Linked DNA regions of Homo sapiens: region 2 is linked to region 1. The links are contacts of gene promoters, found by promoter capture Hi-C in human tissues and cell types (Jung and others, 2019). All regions are on one chromosome and are shown on one strand. Each heading gives the region's core, a stretch centred on a gene start or on the middle of the fragment in contact. The rest is flanking DNA. Distances are from core to core; before and after follow the strand shown.

Region 1 (7,076 bases), core at 22-2,521:
GCTTGATATCTCCCTAAGACCTAGTGTGCAACAAAATATAGTAAATACAACTTCAATTGTGATGTTATGTCTGGCTACTGATCAGATTATTGGACTATACTATTTTTGGACCCAAACAAATCAACCACAACCTTTGAAATGCACCATAAGAAGTAAGATAGTGCCCTTGAGAATATTAACAGTAGGTGCCCCTGAAAGTAAAGGGCCAAATATAGGGACATTTCAAGCCCAGTCGACCAGGTAGATGGGGGTGACTTGTTCAGCTGAGGAAGACCTTGGCTCCTGGAACTACTAAATTCCAATGATAAATATCTTTCTTTAAGGGCATTTGAAGGATACAAGCCTATGTATTTTTATTTAGTATATCTTTCTGCCAACTTTTTTAAAAAAAGTATTATTTTAGAGACAGGATCTCTCTCTGTTGCCCAGGCTGGTCTCCAACTCCTGGCCTCATGTGAGCCTCCTGCCTCAGCCTCCCAAAGCCCTGGAATTACAGGTGTGAGCCACTGTGTCTGGCCCCCTCTTTCAGTCAATTTTTTGTTGGGTAAACTGAATGCTTAATTCACTATACCCAACAAAATTTATGTTTATGTTTATACAATTATGTATTAATTTTGTGTTGCCTTGGCATCCATTTTAAATACATTAGACTTTCTCATACCAGAAGCAGGGCTCAGTCATTCCTGACACTATTTCCAGTCCAACTCCCTGCCGAGTTCCTCAATGTGCCCCATCCAGATATCTGCCTTATACAACTGCTCCCTAGTGACCACTTCCCCATGGGACAGCTAGATGCAGCCTGCTTGACTGGCCCCACTCACTCTTACACCCCACAGAGACTGTGCAGATCTGCCATAGTGACCATGTATCAGTTATTGTGTGACCTGGAACTTGTGCCTGCTTGGTTTAAACCCAATTAAAACTCCGTGCAGGAAACCTGTTTGGATAATGCCCAATACCCAATAAAGGCATTGGCCCATGGGTCTCTTTTTTCTCTCCCTGCCTGTGCTGTCTGACCTCCCTGTGTGGCCTCTAGGCATGCCATGTCCCGCCCAAGGACCTGTAAGTAATACAGTCTTTATTTCCATCTTGTAGTTCTCCTAATCATTGAAGGATGCTCTCATCTTAAAGATCCTAAATCAAAGAAATGGGGAAACACCAATAGGGTTAATTTTGAGTTTCAATTCAAGCATATTATGAAGTATTCCACATGAGGAAGAATTTTAGACTTCTTGGTCGTTTATCCAGAGGCTAAATTCAGATTAAGAAGCTTTATTAAGCCCCAATTATGAATGTGGCCAAAGGAAAAATGTGGTTAGTGGCCTCAGAGGAATCAGCACATTAACCATCTTGCAGAAATTTAAAACAATTCTGTCTGGGTTAATGGATACAATTAACACCAATAGACACCGTATGTAAGTAACTGAGGCTATTTAACGCAGTTATTGACTATACAAATCTCTGCACTGTGGATTAAGCAGTCTCACAATTCGTTAGAGAACGTAATTAGCAAGACTTTATTAAATGTCATTATTGGCTCCAGAGCAGATTTGTATGAGAAACACCTAGGTAGGTAGTTTTCTGAGAAGAATGCTTAAATGACCATCATTTCAATGCTTGGTTTTAAGTGGGTAAATATGTATCTTCAAATACAAATTGTTTACTAAATTCAACTTAAATTTCAGCGTATCCTTTCTCCCCACTTCTCTCCAATCTTCACTGGCCTTCATTTCTCCCACCACATTAAATGGACTTTTCTGCCCAGCCAACAAGGTCCTTCATAATCTCCCTACTACCCTCATTTCACTTTGATGTGTGTTTTTGCCAGTGTTAGGGCTGGCCTCCTCGTTATCTATTTTATCCAGTGAGCTCATTTCCTCCTTATCTCCCAGCTCCTCAATGGCTGACTCCTGTCAATCGTCGCCGAAGAATCATTTATTGAGAAAAAGGGAGTCAGAAGTAAGTAAGCCTATGGTAGAAAGAAGAAAGGATGCATATTTGAATCTGTAATGAGGCTGCCATGGCATGAGTGTGTCCCCTAAAGTTCATGTGCTGGAAACTTAATCCCTAATGCAACCATGTTGGGAGGTGGGGCCTAATGAAAGGTGATGAGGTCATGAGGGCTCTGGTCTCGTAAGTAGATTAATGTTGTTATTGTGGGAATGGGCTAGTTCTTGAGTGGGTTGTCACAAAAGCGAGTTTGGCTCCCACTCATTCTCATCTCTTTCCTCTTTTGCCCCTCCACCTTCCACCATGGGATGACACAGCATGAAGGCCCTTGCCAGATGCCAGTGCCATGCTCCCAGACTCCAGAACTGTAAACCCAGCTCTCCAGGTGATTCTGAGAGTTACAGGAGCCAGACATTTATCATTGGAGTTTAGTAGTTCCAGGAATTTAGCAGTTCCAGGCCAGGTCAATAACCACTCCTTAAGAGTGGTTATTAACTTCTCAAACTTTGATGTGCATGTAAGTCACTGGGGGATTTTGTTACAGATTCTGGTTCAGTGGGCCTGGGGTGAGGCCTGACATTCTCAAACTTTTTCATTTCAAAAAAGTTCTCAGGTGATGCTTATGTTGCTGGTCTGTGGACCACAGAATGAATAGCAAGGCTGGAATGGGAAAGGTAGAAAAGGACACATAGACTGAAATCATTTTGCATCCAAAAAGAAGTTCAGATAAAGCACAATTGCTATTATACTGAGTTTGTGCAGAATAGGATGTTAATGATGATGATAATGACAATGCTAGGCTGGATAAATATAATTCAGGTTTCCCCAGACCTCACCAACCTGCGTACAAATAAGGTCTTATGTTCACAATATGTTTACAGTAAGTACTCAGATTTATCCTGCTCATTAGTCTATTTGCATATCACAGAAACACTAGCTCCCTCTCTTTAAGCCTCACCCAATTATTTCTAGGAGTCCCTGGGGGTCTCTCACTTCACTTTGGCAAGAGTTGTCCTCTCAGGGTCTTCAGCTCAGGATCCCCTTTGTTCATGCTCAAAGCTCAAGACACTGTTTGGGTAGGGGCTTTACTCCTGTTGGTGCCATTCCTGCCCTGACAGCCCTGGTGTCTACTCCTAAGGCACTGTCTCCCAGGATCCCAAAGCTGCAGAAACTTGAGAGGCCAGAACAGGGCTTTATCCTTGAATTGAAGCCATGGAATGTTGCACATAGCAGAGGGCAATAGCTTTTCAGCAGCATTTTATGCTGAAGCAGCCCCACTTGCTCCCTGCTGTGTCTGCCTGAGTTCCCTGGGAAACGACATCAGATTCTACCTGCAGCCTGTGTCCAGACCATACCTATAGGCTGGCAAATGAACAGATATCATATCTGTCTCAGTACAAGAGGAAGCATACAGATAGACTCCAAACTGAAAAATCTGTCTCCCGGAATTGAGTTTCTTACCAAAGAAGTGTAAAAATAGGGGCAAGATGGCCAGTGCTTATGCCCATTTGCATAGAAGTTATCTGGGATTACTTTTTGTTGCACTCTTTAATTGGTTCACTGTTCTTGGAGGTCATGCCATTGTTTGTCTTCAAGTTATTTTTCCTTTTGCTGCAGTAAATCCTTAATTTACTTTTTCAGAAAGTGTATATACTTACCTATATATATGTGTGTATCTATATATAACCTATATGCAAACATGCATATATAACCTATATATGCATGTTATAACATGTTATATAACCTGTATATGCATGTTATATATAACCTATAAACATGCATAACTTATATAACAAACATGCTTGCACACACATGCATGTTTGAAGATAGGTTTTTGTATATCTAAGTTTTTACATGTGTGAAAATGTATTATATCCCTCTAATACTTGATTAATATTTTGGGTAATTTTCCATTTAAAATTATGTTTCTTCAGAACTTTGAAGGCATTTCTTTACTGCTTTCTAGAATTCACTGTCACTAATGAAAGAAAATAGTGGTTAAGAGTACTAAGCCAGACTGCTGGGTTTGAGTCTCAGTTCTGCCACTCACAAGGTATGTATCCATGGGTAAGTTCCTTGATATTTTCATCTGAAAAATGGTAATAATAAGAGTAGCTACCTTGTAGGACTGTAGTGAGGTTGAAATTAACCAATATAGGTCAAGTGCTGAAAACAGCTGATCGCACATAGTAAGCCTATTAAAATGTTAGCTTATTAACATTTATTATTAAAACGTTAGATCATTTTCCTCCTTTGCTCAAAGCAAAGTGGCTCCCTTCTCTTTCATCTTTATATTTATCCTCCATGTTCCAAAACATCATGGTACTATAGCTATGTGGGTCATTTTGCACTCATTGAGCTTGGAACTTAGGAAACTTTTTTGAATATCTTCCTTTAGTTCTGGGATTAAAAAAAAAAAAAAACGTTTCATGCTTTTTATTCTCTTTTCCTTTCTAGGATGTCTTAGTTAAATTTGGACCCTCTTGGATTGATCTTATGTATTTCTTATTTTTTTCCCCTCAGATTTTCCATTTCTTTGGGGTGTTTTTGTTGTTGTTGTTCTATATTCTGGGAGATGTTTTCATCTATTTATTTCACCCAATGTATTACATTCTTCATTTATGCATTTATATCTTTAATTTTTCACAACCTACTTCTTGTTTTTTGCTTCTTTTTGTTAGTACTTTGAATGGATGGATATGATATCGATCCATATCTTTGTGGCTCTTAATTAGATTCGTTTTATGATCTTCATTTTCTCCTAAGTTATCTCAGTTCCTCCCAGAATGTGATGAACAAAAGTCACTTATAGATGCTTGAAATCTTTGAGCACTCTCCCCATATTTTGATACCTTTTCATAATATTAATTTCATCTTCTCATAGACATTACAAATATTACATTTCCCATCTCCTTGTAATTAGAATATAGACTTTGATTCAGCCAACCAGCATAGGCTCTTTTGAGAGCTTTGATTCTAAAGTTAGTTGCAAGAAGAACGTGCTAGGACACCTGGCGCCTATTTTGCTGGCACTGGGGGAAGGCAGAGGTGCAACATTTTTGGAGTCCATAGCAGCAGTGGCCGCAGCAGATCTCTTCTCAGACCAGTCCTGGAGTATGGTTCAGGGAGATGTTCCTGGAGACTCAGCCTGAGATGATTCCTCCAGTCCTTTCAAAGATTATCCAATAATAAATACATTCCCCATGATGGCTTTCCAGCCTGGACTTATCCCTCAGATTCCAGATTTTTTCCAACTGCCTATATGACCTTGCCACATGGATATGCAGTGAACCACACCACCTGGCATTTGTGCCCATGTGTAATCCTCTTTCCTTGAGTGTGGGCTCGCTGGGCATGTTAACTCACTCCTAATTAATAGAATAGGGTAGATGTGATGGATGTCACTCCAAGATTACGTTATAAAAGGACTGTGCCTTTCATCTTGGGCACTCACTCTCTCTAGCCCTTTCTTGGATGACTCAACCTGAGAAAAGCCAACTCTCATATTATAAGGTAGCCCTGCAGAGCGGCCTCTGTGGTGAGGGACCAATGCCTCCCAAAAACCATGTGAGTTAGAGGGGAAGCAGATCCCTCACTCTCAGTCAAACTTTCCAATGAGACCACAGCCCAAGCCCCAGTGACTCCAAGAGAGACTTTGGGCCACAGATACTCAGCTAAACTGCACTCAAGATCAAACTCACAGAAGCTGTGAGATAATAAATGTTTGGGGTTTTTCAGCCACTGAGTGTTATTTTGCAGCAACAGATAATGAATATAGGTGTCATAAATTTAACTTGTCTAGAACCGAACTCCTGATCTTCAAGTCTGCCCTCAACACGCTCCTCTCATAGTCTTTCCTAAAAAAAAAGAAAATAGTGGTTAAGAGTACTAAGCCAAGCTACTGAGTTTGAGTCTCAGTTCTGCCACTCACTAGGTGTATATCCGTGGGTAAGTTCCTTGATATTTTAATCTGAAAAATGCTAATAAGACTAGCTAACTTATAGGACTATTGTGAGGTTGAAATTAATGAATATATGTTGAGTGCTTAAAACAGTTGATCACGCATAGTAAGTACTATAAAAGTTTTAGCTATTTTTCTTAGTTTCATCATTATCTTTATATTTATCTTACTCTATCCTTCTAGTTGCTGAGGCCAAAAACTTGGAAGCCATCCTTTACCTTTCTTCCTCTCTCATAACTGATGCCAAACCACCAGCAAATCCAATTATATCTTTAAAATGTCTCTAAAATTTGATCATTTTTCATCACCTCTACTACTACTACCCTGTACCAAATCACTGTCACTTCTGGTATGGATTATTGCAATAGCCACCTCACTGGTCTCCTGTCTTCCATTTTGACCCTCTAGAGCCTTTTCCGCACACAGCCAAAGTGATCTGTGTAAAATCAGATCATTTTACTCCTTTGCTCAAAGCTCTCCAGTGGCTCCCCTCTCTTTCATAGTAAAGACAGTCTCTTGAAGGGCTTTATGTGGCCTTACCTTACCTCCTACTATGCTTCCCTGTGCTATCTTCCCAAGTTACACTGCTACCCTGCTGCTCCTCAAATACACAAAGCCTGCTGTCATCTCAGGGCCTCTGCACTGGCCATTCTTCACCCAGAAGGCCTGATTGCACTTGACTGAAAGGAAGGGGTCATGTCCAATCTATTCGTTGCTGTACCACCAACACCTGAAAAAGTACCTGGTTCATTGTAGGCCTTTAAATATTTGTTGAATAAATGTATAAACCCAGGTAGAGTAGACACTTCACTCTGCAGCTAAAAACCCAGATTGATATGTAGCATTCATTGTTTTCTTTGTTCCCCTAAATTTTTCTCCTTTGTGAAGTAGCTTTTCCTTGAATGTCTTATGGTATTAGTGATAGTGAAAGGAAGCAGACAGATTTCTCAGCAGACAGGGATAGGTCCCTGGTGAAACCCAACTTTCAAGCCAAAAATAGCTTAAAGTCTAAAAACTGAGCTGCCAGTTCCAGGTAGAGTCCACAACTGGAGTGAGAACTTCCTCAATGCCTTTTAGCCAATCAAATGGTGCTTTTTCCAGGCCTGCCCATGGACTATCAGTACACACTCTCCCATTCTGAGCCCATAAAAACCCCGGACTCAGC
Region 2 (7,290 bases), core at 722-3,221, 330 kb after region 1:
AGAACAGCTTTATTCCTCTGCCATCGACCCAAACGCAGGCTTGATGAATTCGGGACTGCGTCTGTTTAAAGTGTTAGATACACAGTGAAAGGAGAAGGCGGGAGGCAAAAATGAAAAACACCAACCCCACTTCCCTGGAAGGAAATGCGTTTCCACCTCCCTCCTCCTTGCAATTAGAAAAGCAAATTATTGCTGTGACTACGCTGAGAAAGGCAACTCGGAGGCGTAGAAAATGGATTTCTGAGCCAACGTGGCCCGGCAGGGGGCTGCTAAGGGAGGGTAAAAGGGAGCAGGGGAGCCACGGCTTGGCGGGGAGACCCGCGTTACCCGGAAGGCTTCTCGGAACGTTCTACCTGTTGGGCTTCGCAGCCGAGCTGCTCACCCCCGGCCGCCGCGCTCGAGGGCGCCCCTCCCTCTCCAGAACCCAAACTTTCCCTCGCACCCCTAGGAAGCGACGAGCCTCGTCCCTCCCCCAGTCCAGATTTCGGACGTGGAACTTTGCCTGAGCCACAAGGGACCGGAGGAATGGGGTTCATTCCCACGCCGCCCGGGGGATTCCCGTTGCTCGGATCCCAGAAGTGGGGGATGCAAACGGACGGTCAGCCCAGGACCTGGCCAAAGTTTCCTCCAAAACTGCAGTGGTCAAGGCGTGACCCAGGAGCTCGGAGTTTCCAGCTCAGGGCTGGGGGCTGGAGCAGGCCCCGGGGCACCAGCCGCAAGGTCACTGCGGAGCCGGACCCCGGGGGCAAACGGCCGGCGCGTGGTGGAGGGGCAACGCTGGGCACCCGACCACTCTCCACACCTGCTCAGCTCTGCGCGGAGCCCGGGACACGTGGGAGCCCAGTCCCGGGCTCCCAGCCTGCTGCAGGGACTCGCAACCTCGCCGGGGCGTACACCCTTCGCCCCCGGCCCGGCAACCAGGAAGAGGCGGCTCGCCCGGGCGCAGAGCAGCCGGCTCCGGGTAACTCTTTCATCCTCCGACCTCGGCAGCAGCAGGGAGGGAGTTTCGTTCTCCTCAAACCAGCCCCTCACCCCCGGTTGCTTCCCACACCTCTCCGTTTCCCTGCTACCTCGCAGACAGACAGACAAGGGACACAAAGAAAAAAAGAAGAAGAAAAAAAAAAAAAAAAAAACTACCGCCCCTCCTGGTCCCATCCTCCAGCCCGGAGCCGGTAGGAAGAAGAGGGCGAAGCACACCTTCCCTTCTCCTCCCCATCCCGACGCGGTGACCCGGGTAGATCTGGGCAGCCAGGAGCTCTGGGCAGCCAGGAGCCCCGAAGAGGCCGAAGGCGGAGAGGTAGGGTTGGAAGAGGCAGAAATCAGGCGGAGCGAGCTAGAGCGCGAGAGAGAAGAAAATATCCAACAAAACCACGCTAACGCGCCCCCTACCTGGGTGCAACATACTTTGGAAATAGAAGATGACCAGGATAAAGGATCCCAAGCAAGTGGCCAGCACCATCCGGCAGATTCTGTTCATCCTCATCACTTCCAGCAGCGCTGGCTTCATGGCTTTGTCCTGGCTGCGGGGACCGGGGTGTCCGGGAAGCGCGCCCGGGGCGCAGGAGCAGGGACCCCGCCGCGCGGACCGGAGCCCGGGAGGCGCGGGGCAGAGCTGAGCAAGGCTCAGAGGGAGGATCGGAGTCGCTTCGCGGCCGCTCTCGGAGCCCCCAGCCCGGGCAGGGGTGTGGAAGGTGCCGGAGTTGGTCTGGAAGTGCTGAGATGCGTGGACCCGCTGGCTGCGCGCTCCTGCTCCTCCTCCTCGCCGCTCCGCCGCCTCCTCCGATCCCGCCGGCGGCCGCCGCTGCCTGGTCGCGGGCCGGGCGGCTGGGGTGCGAGCGGTGATGGTGGTGCCGCCGCCGCTGCCGCTGCGCTGGCCGCTGTGGCTGTCCGACGGGCCCTCTCCCTTCTCTCCAAAGGCTACTTCATTGCGCTCCAACGATCTATATATTCCGGGGCTGGGTTTTACCAAATGCAACTCGCGGCCCCCGGCGAGGGGAGGGCGCCTGCGGAGAGCCGGGAGGAGGGAGGGACCCTAGCGCCGGGGCGGAGCGTCGCGCTCCCCCCGCCCCTACCCGGGATATGGTCGCGTCCAGCTGTTGCCCGGGGAGTGCGGTGTGCGCGCCGCGCTCCCGCAGGGTCCCAAAAGCCCTCAGTCCCCGGCCGGGCTCGGCCGCCGTCTGGAGGTTGTGTCAGCGTTTCCATGACAAAACCCGGAGGAAAAAAAGACGAAGAAAATCGCCTCGGTGCTGCCACCCACCCCCGCCAGCGTTTGGAGAGGGAAGTGGCAAGCAGCGGGCTGGGTCTCGGAGGGAAGAATTAAGGGTTAGGGGGTTTCTGGTGGCTGGCAATTATTTAAAATCCCTGGGCGACGTAGCGGGGAAGTTGCCCCAAACCCCCAGGGAGCGAGTGCCCATTTTCCGACGCTCAGAACTGGGCGGTTTCGTTTTTCTTTCAAAGGACAGCCCAGCTTGGGAGTCGGGGTTAAAGAGGGCTGACTTAAAGTCAGGGTTAAGGAAACTGCACGACCCTCGGGTCAGGCGACAGCTGAGCTTTCCCGGGGACTTATACAGACAGAATCTCTGACACCCACCATCACCACCATTCCTCAAGGCAAAAGGGATCTGTGGGTTGCAAAACTCTGCTACCCCAAAGGGTAGAGCATCCTCCAAATTATTCAAAATTAACAGCAGTCTTAGCTGGGAGGGGGTGAGAAAATGCCCCTAGGAAGCCACCTCAACCAAGTCCAGAAAACTGCTGGAAAAGCCAAGCCAGCCATAGCACTGGCAGGTACATGGAAAGATGGTGCTGCTTTCTTGTATTGTGTAGAATGACTTCCAGTTTCCAATTCCATGCATTTAGGCTGTTTCACAATCAATAAAGTGGACACAGCCAATAGTGTAGGGATCACTCGTATGTCAGGGAAAAAAAAAATGTTAGTTAGACTAACCTTTGTGCCTTATCAAGTCATTACTAATTCAATTAAAAATGAAATAAGATACTGTGTCTTTCAATGCCTCTCACAAAATAGGCATTTGATAAATTCTTATTGAATCTGAATGTAATGGGCCTTATCCTCCCCTCGATAGACAGAGACACAACTTGCAGTTAGACACATGCAACAAAAACCACCTGGGCAACCTCAGTTCCCTTCCCCCAGAGTTCTCCTCCAGCAGTTGCATGGTGGGGAAAGTAACAAACTCAGCAGCCTTGCCTTTGATTACAGAAGACAATCAAAGCACAATATTTATGTAGCCGGTGTGCGCTGTATTAATTTGGACTTACCTGTGAATAAGTTGCTTGCTCAAGGAAGCCAGGCTGAACAAGCTTCAGACAGAGTCGTTCTCCAGTGATTCTTCTGCTCTGGTGATAGGAGATCAGGAATGGGAGTTGCACTGCACCCTCCCCACCTCCCCACCATCATCACTAAGAAAGGGGATTCCTTGCAGAGGGCATGGCTTAGATGGGCATTTGCACAAAGCCTTTGCCTGGAATATAAGTCTCTCATTTAACACTTGGCTTTACAGAGCCAGGGAGGGGAAGGGATTTACTCCCAGGTCACCCAAGTGACCTCTCACCTCATAGGCCAAAGACTTCAGTTACCTGCCCCAAAGCCTGGACATGCACAAGGCAGTTTGGGAAGTCACAGGGTCAAGGAAGAGATCAGAAGTCCAATTCCCTGTGAGTCACAGAGATCATGGAGTTGGCCCACATGGTGGGGGAGGATGGTGAATCATGCCCAACATCCATTCTTGCATTCCCACAATCAGGAACCTGCCCAAACACAGTGAGGATTAAGGCTGTGACACATAAGCTACCACCTCTCCCAAGAAGTCTTTGCTGTTTTCTCACCTGAAATTGCAACTTTCCTCCTCTGCGCTGTGAGCACTAGGTCCAAACCTCTTTTGGGCCACTGTACCCACTAGGCTGAACTCCTTCCTGGAGATCCAAGTTGTCTTCATCTCTGTCTCTTTCTAATGCCCAGCACAATGACTGGTACATAGTAGGTACAAATAAGTCAGAGGCAGAGAGGTAATGCCTACTTGGACTAGGAAGTTAGATTAGATCACCTCTAAAATCTATGACAAAGGTCAGTGGTAATGGTCTGTGATTCTGTTGTTCTATGCACATTGAGGGGTGATGAAAAAATTCTGTTTTCTCCTTCATCACACTCTAAACTGCCCAACTACAGTTAGAATCATTGCTTTCTTTCCATTCCTAGCCTAAGAAAATTTTGTTACATCTTATGCTATATAATAAATATTAGCCAAGTAAAGGACAGTATTAACTGATAAAACTGAGGAGAAAAATTTTATACTTTGAACATTGAAAGAGGAACGGATCAGTCTTCAGATCCTTTCTCCCTCATCTTTCTAAATTCCCTTTTGCCCTGAAAGATTCTGCAGATTGGCATTGTGCTCATTGTGGGACCTGGCTTGATTGATTGACTCTCCAAATTCAACAACATGCAAGTGAAACTGGGGCCTGCATTTTTGTTTTGTTTTGTTTTGTTTTGTTTTTGAGACGGAGTCTCACTCTGTCGCCCAGGCTGGAGTGCAGTGGCGCGATCTTGGCTCACTGCAAGCTCCGTCTCCCGGGTTCACACCATTCTCCTGCCTCAGCCTCCCGACTAGCTGGGACTACAGGCACGTGCCACCACGCCCGGCTAATTTTTTGTATTTTTTAGTAGAGACGGGGTTTCACCATGTTAGCCAGGATGGTCTCGATCTCCTGACCTCGTGATCCGCCCACCTCGGCCTCCCAAAGTGCTGGGATTACAGGCGTGAGCCACCGCGCCCGGCCAGGGGCCTGCCCATTTTAAAGCCTGGCATGGCCCTGAAAAACTGGTTGAGGAGAAAGTCTTATTTATGTTGACGATCTTGTAGAATTTATAGCAGGGGAAGAAATCGGTGTGAAGTCACAATTCGGGCTTCTGGGTGCTGTTGTCAATGGACTGACAGATGTTTATGTGGCCCTTCCAATCCGCGCAGGCTGAGCGCCTCCTCATTCCGGCAGATTATACCTACAATGCACTGTCTTGTTACGATCTTGCAAACCTGGCAACGATGCCCTTTTCTGCACCTTGTTGGAGAGAAAAGTGGGCCCAGGGTACTAGTAGACAGAGAGCTCTTCAGCATCCTTGAAGGGAGAGAGGGATGTGTCTTCTGCCAACATCAGCCAGGGGCCCCAGACTGGCTCCTCCAAGGACTGGCGCTGCCATTTGCATCTCTCTGGCACCTCTAGCACAAAGGATACTCAGTTAACCAGAGCACAGTAAATATTTGTGAAGTTGAATTATAAACCATTTGCCCGCAGTATGTGGAGATCTTAGGGTACAAATTTTCTACAGGTAGGTAAACCGCAAGTAACACAAATGGGTTACTCGTGACATGACTCTGAGAGCAGGCTCTGCTTTGCAGGCTTTTCTGAACAAGGTGGAGAAAAAGACAGCAAGAGAGAAAGGGATTGAAGAAGGGAAAGAGAAAGGGAGAAAAAGAGGGGAAGGGAAGAGACGAAGGGGGAGGGAAGGAGAGGAGAAAGGGTTGGGGAAGAAAAGAAAAGAATTGCCTGGGAAAGAGAAGGAGGAAGGATGGGAGAGGGAAAGGGAGAGAAAAGAAGAAAGGACGAAGGAAAGGAGAGAGGGAGGAAGGAAGGGAAGACAAGATGAAGAGGGAGGAAGGAGAGAGGGAAGAAGGAAGAGAAGAAAATAAAGGAGAGAGGAGAGGAAGGAGGAAAGGACTATCCCTCATTATTCTGTCTCACTTTCTTCTTCTTTTTTTTTTTTTTTGAGGTAGAATCTATCACTCAGGCTGGAGTGCAGTGGCGTGATCTTAGCTCACTGTAACCTCCGCCTTCTGGGTTCAAGCAATTCTCCTGCCTCAGTCTTCTGAGTAGCTTCAGTACAGGCATGCACCCCCATGCCCAGCTAATTTTTGTATTTTTAGTAGAGATTGGTGTCACCATGTTGGCCAGGCTGGTCTCCAATTCCTGGCCTCAAGTGATCCGCCTGCCTCAGCCTCCCAGAGTGCTGGGATTACAGGCGTGAGCCACCGCGCCAGGCCTTGTCTGACTTTCTGATGCCGCCTTTGCTCCTCCACCTAGTTTAGGCCCGAAAGACTCCTCTCCCTCCCTTACTGAGGACCAGGTCTGTGGGACCCTTGGGCCCTACCCTAAGCCGACTCCAGCTGCCCTCTGGATAGCCCTGGCCACCTCCCCGTCTCCAGGCACAGCCCAGAAATCAGTTCCGTGAGCCACTCATCCCTCTCAAATATTTCTCAACTGGTGGCCCCTGATCAACTCCTAAACTCTATCTGCATAACTAGGAAACCTTCAGCTCCTGGCCCTCCACCCACCCCAGTACCCCTCCTCACCCCACCAGGTGCCTTCACTGTGTTTTTTTCACTTTGCCCCTGCCAGCGCCTCTGCTGGCCCCATCCACCAGATCATCCAGGTCTTTCTATGGAGTCTTTCCAGGCCCCCTGCCTGCCTCTTGCTGCTCCTCAGTAAGGACATTAGCATTTCTTGAGCACACTTTGACATTCATGGCATGATAATTTATTGAAATATTCATTTGTGTGTGTTATCCTCCTACTTCCACTTCTCCACGCCCCCTCCATTTCAGGCAGGCTTTGTGCCACCTTGCCTGAGGGATTTGATGAAGGCTTCCTGGGAGAAAAATTTAAAACTGTGGAAGAGATAATGGCAGGGAGAGAAGGGGGTGTTGGGGGTGGATTTGTGAAGGAATAAGTGAGTGCCCTGCCCCCTTTTGCCTGGGAGGTGGATGCTCCATAGGTACTAGTACCTGGGATGGCTAAAACCTGGCACAGTGATCCCAGTGCCACCAGGGATTCCAGTGCCCTAAGCATGGCACAAAAGTCACAGAACTGCTGACCTGAGGGAGCTTCAAGGACAGAGCCAGGCAGATGCCTTGGAGGTGATTCGTGTGGCCAAGAGGGCCTGTCATGCTCGGTGCCAGGGCCAGATTAAGATGCTGAGAACCTCTGAGTGCTGGGAGCTTATGGTGTACCACTCCCATATGTAATTCAGAATAGAAATAATACTAAAGAAGGAAGCTGGGCACATTGGCTCACGCCTGTAATCCCTGCACTTTGGGAGGATCATCTGAGGTCAGGAGTTCGAGACCCGCCTGGCCAACATGATGAAACCCCCATCTCTACTAAAAATACAAAAATTAGCTGGGCATGGTGGCAGGCACCTGTAATCCCAGCTACTTGGGAGGCTGAGGCAGGAGAATCGCTTGAACACTGGAGGCAGAGGTTGCAGTGAGCCAAG

What was found. Contacts are between HindIII fragments. The study calls those that stand out against the background at their distance.
Region 2: the fragment with the promoter of CHST11 here is called in contact with a fragment that was not itself captured in region 1 in 1 of the 25 tissues and cell types used here (spleen).

Annotation. Positions count from the first base shown.
Region 1 is chr12:104,780,886-104,787,961 of GRCh38, reverse strand. No RefSeq gene overlaps it. Among named protein-coding and RNA genes, the nearest start is that of SLC41A2, 170 kb to the left of the region's middle. RefSeq lists an enhancer at 5,672-5,841. The HindIII fragment of the contact is 6,678 bases long and covers 1-4,610 here.
Region 2 is chr12:104,451,629-104,458,918 of GRCh38, reverse strand. CHST11 (carbohydrate sulfotransferase 11) reads right to left here and starts at 1,971. Exons shown (of 3, transcript NM_018413.6): 1 at 1,390-1,971. The coding sequence starts at 1,507. RefSeq lists silencers at 433-492, 653-792, 1,383-1,662, 1,703-1,872, 1,953-2,082 and enhancers at 1,183-1,232, 2,153-2,232, 2,253-2,302, 6,082-6,584. The HindIII fragment of the contact is 13,105 bases long and covers 1,260-7,290 here.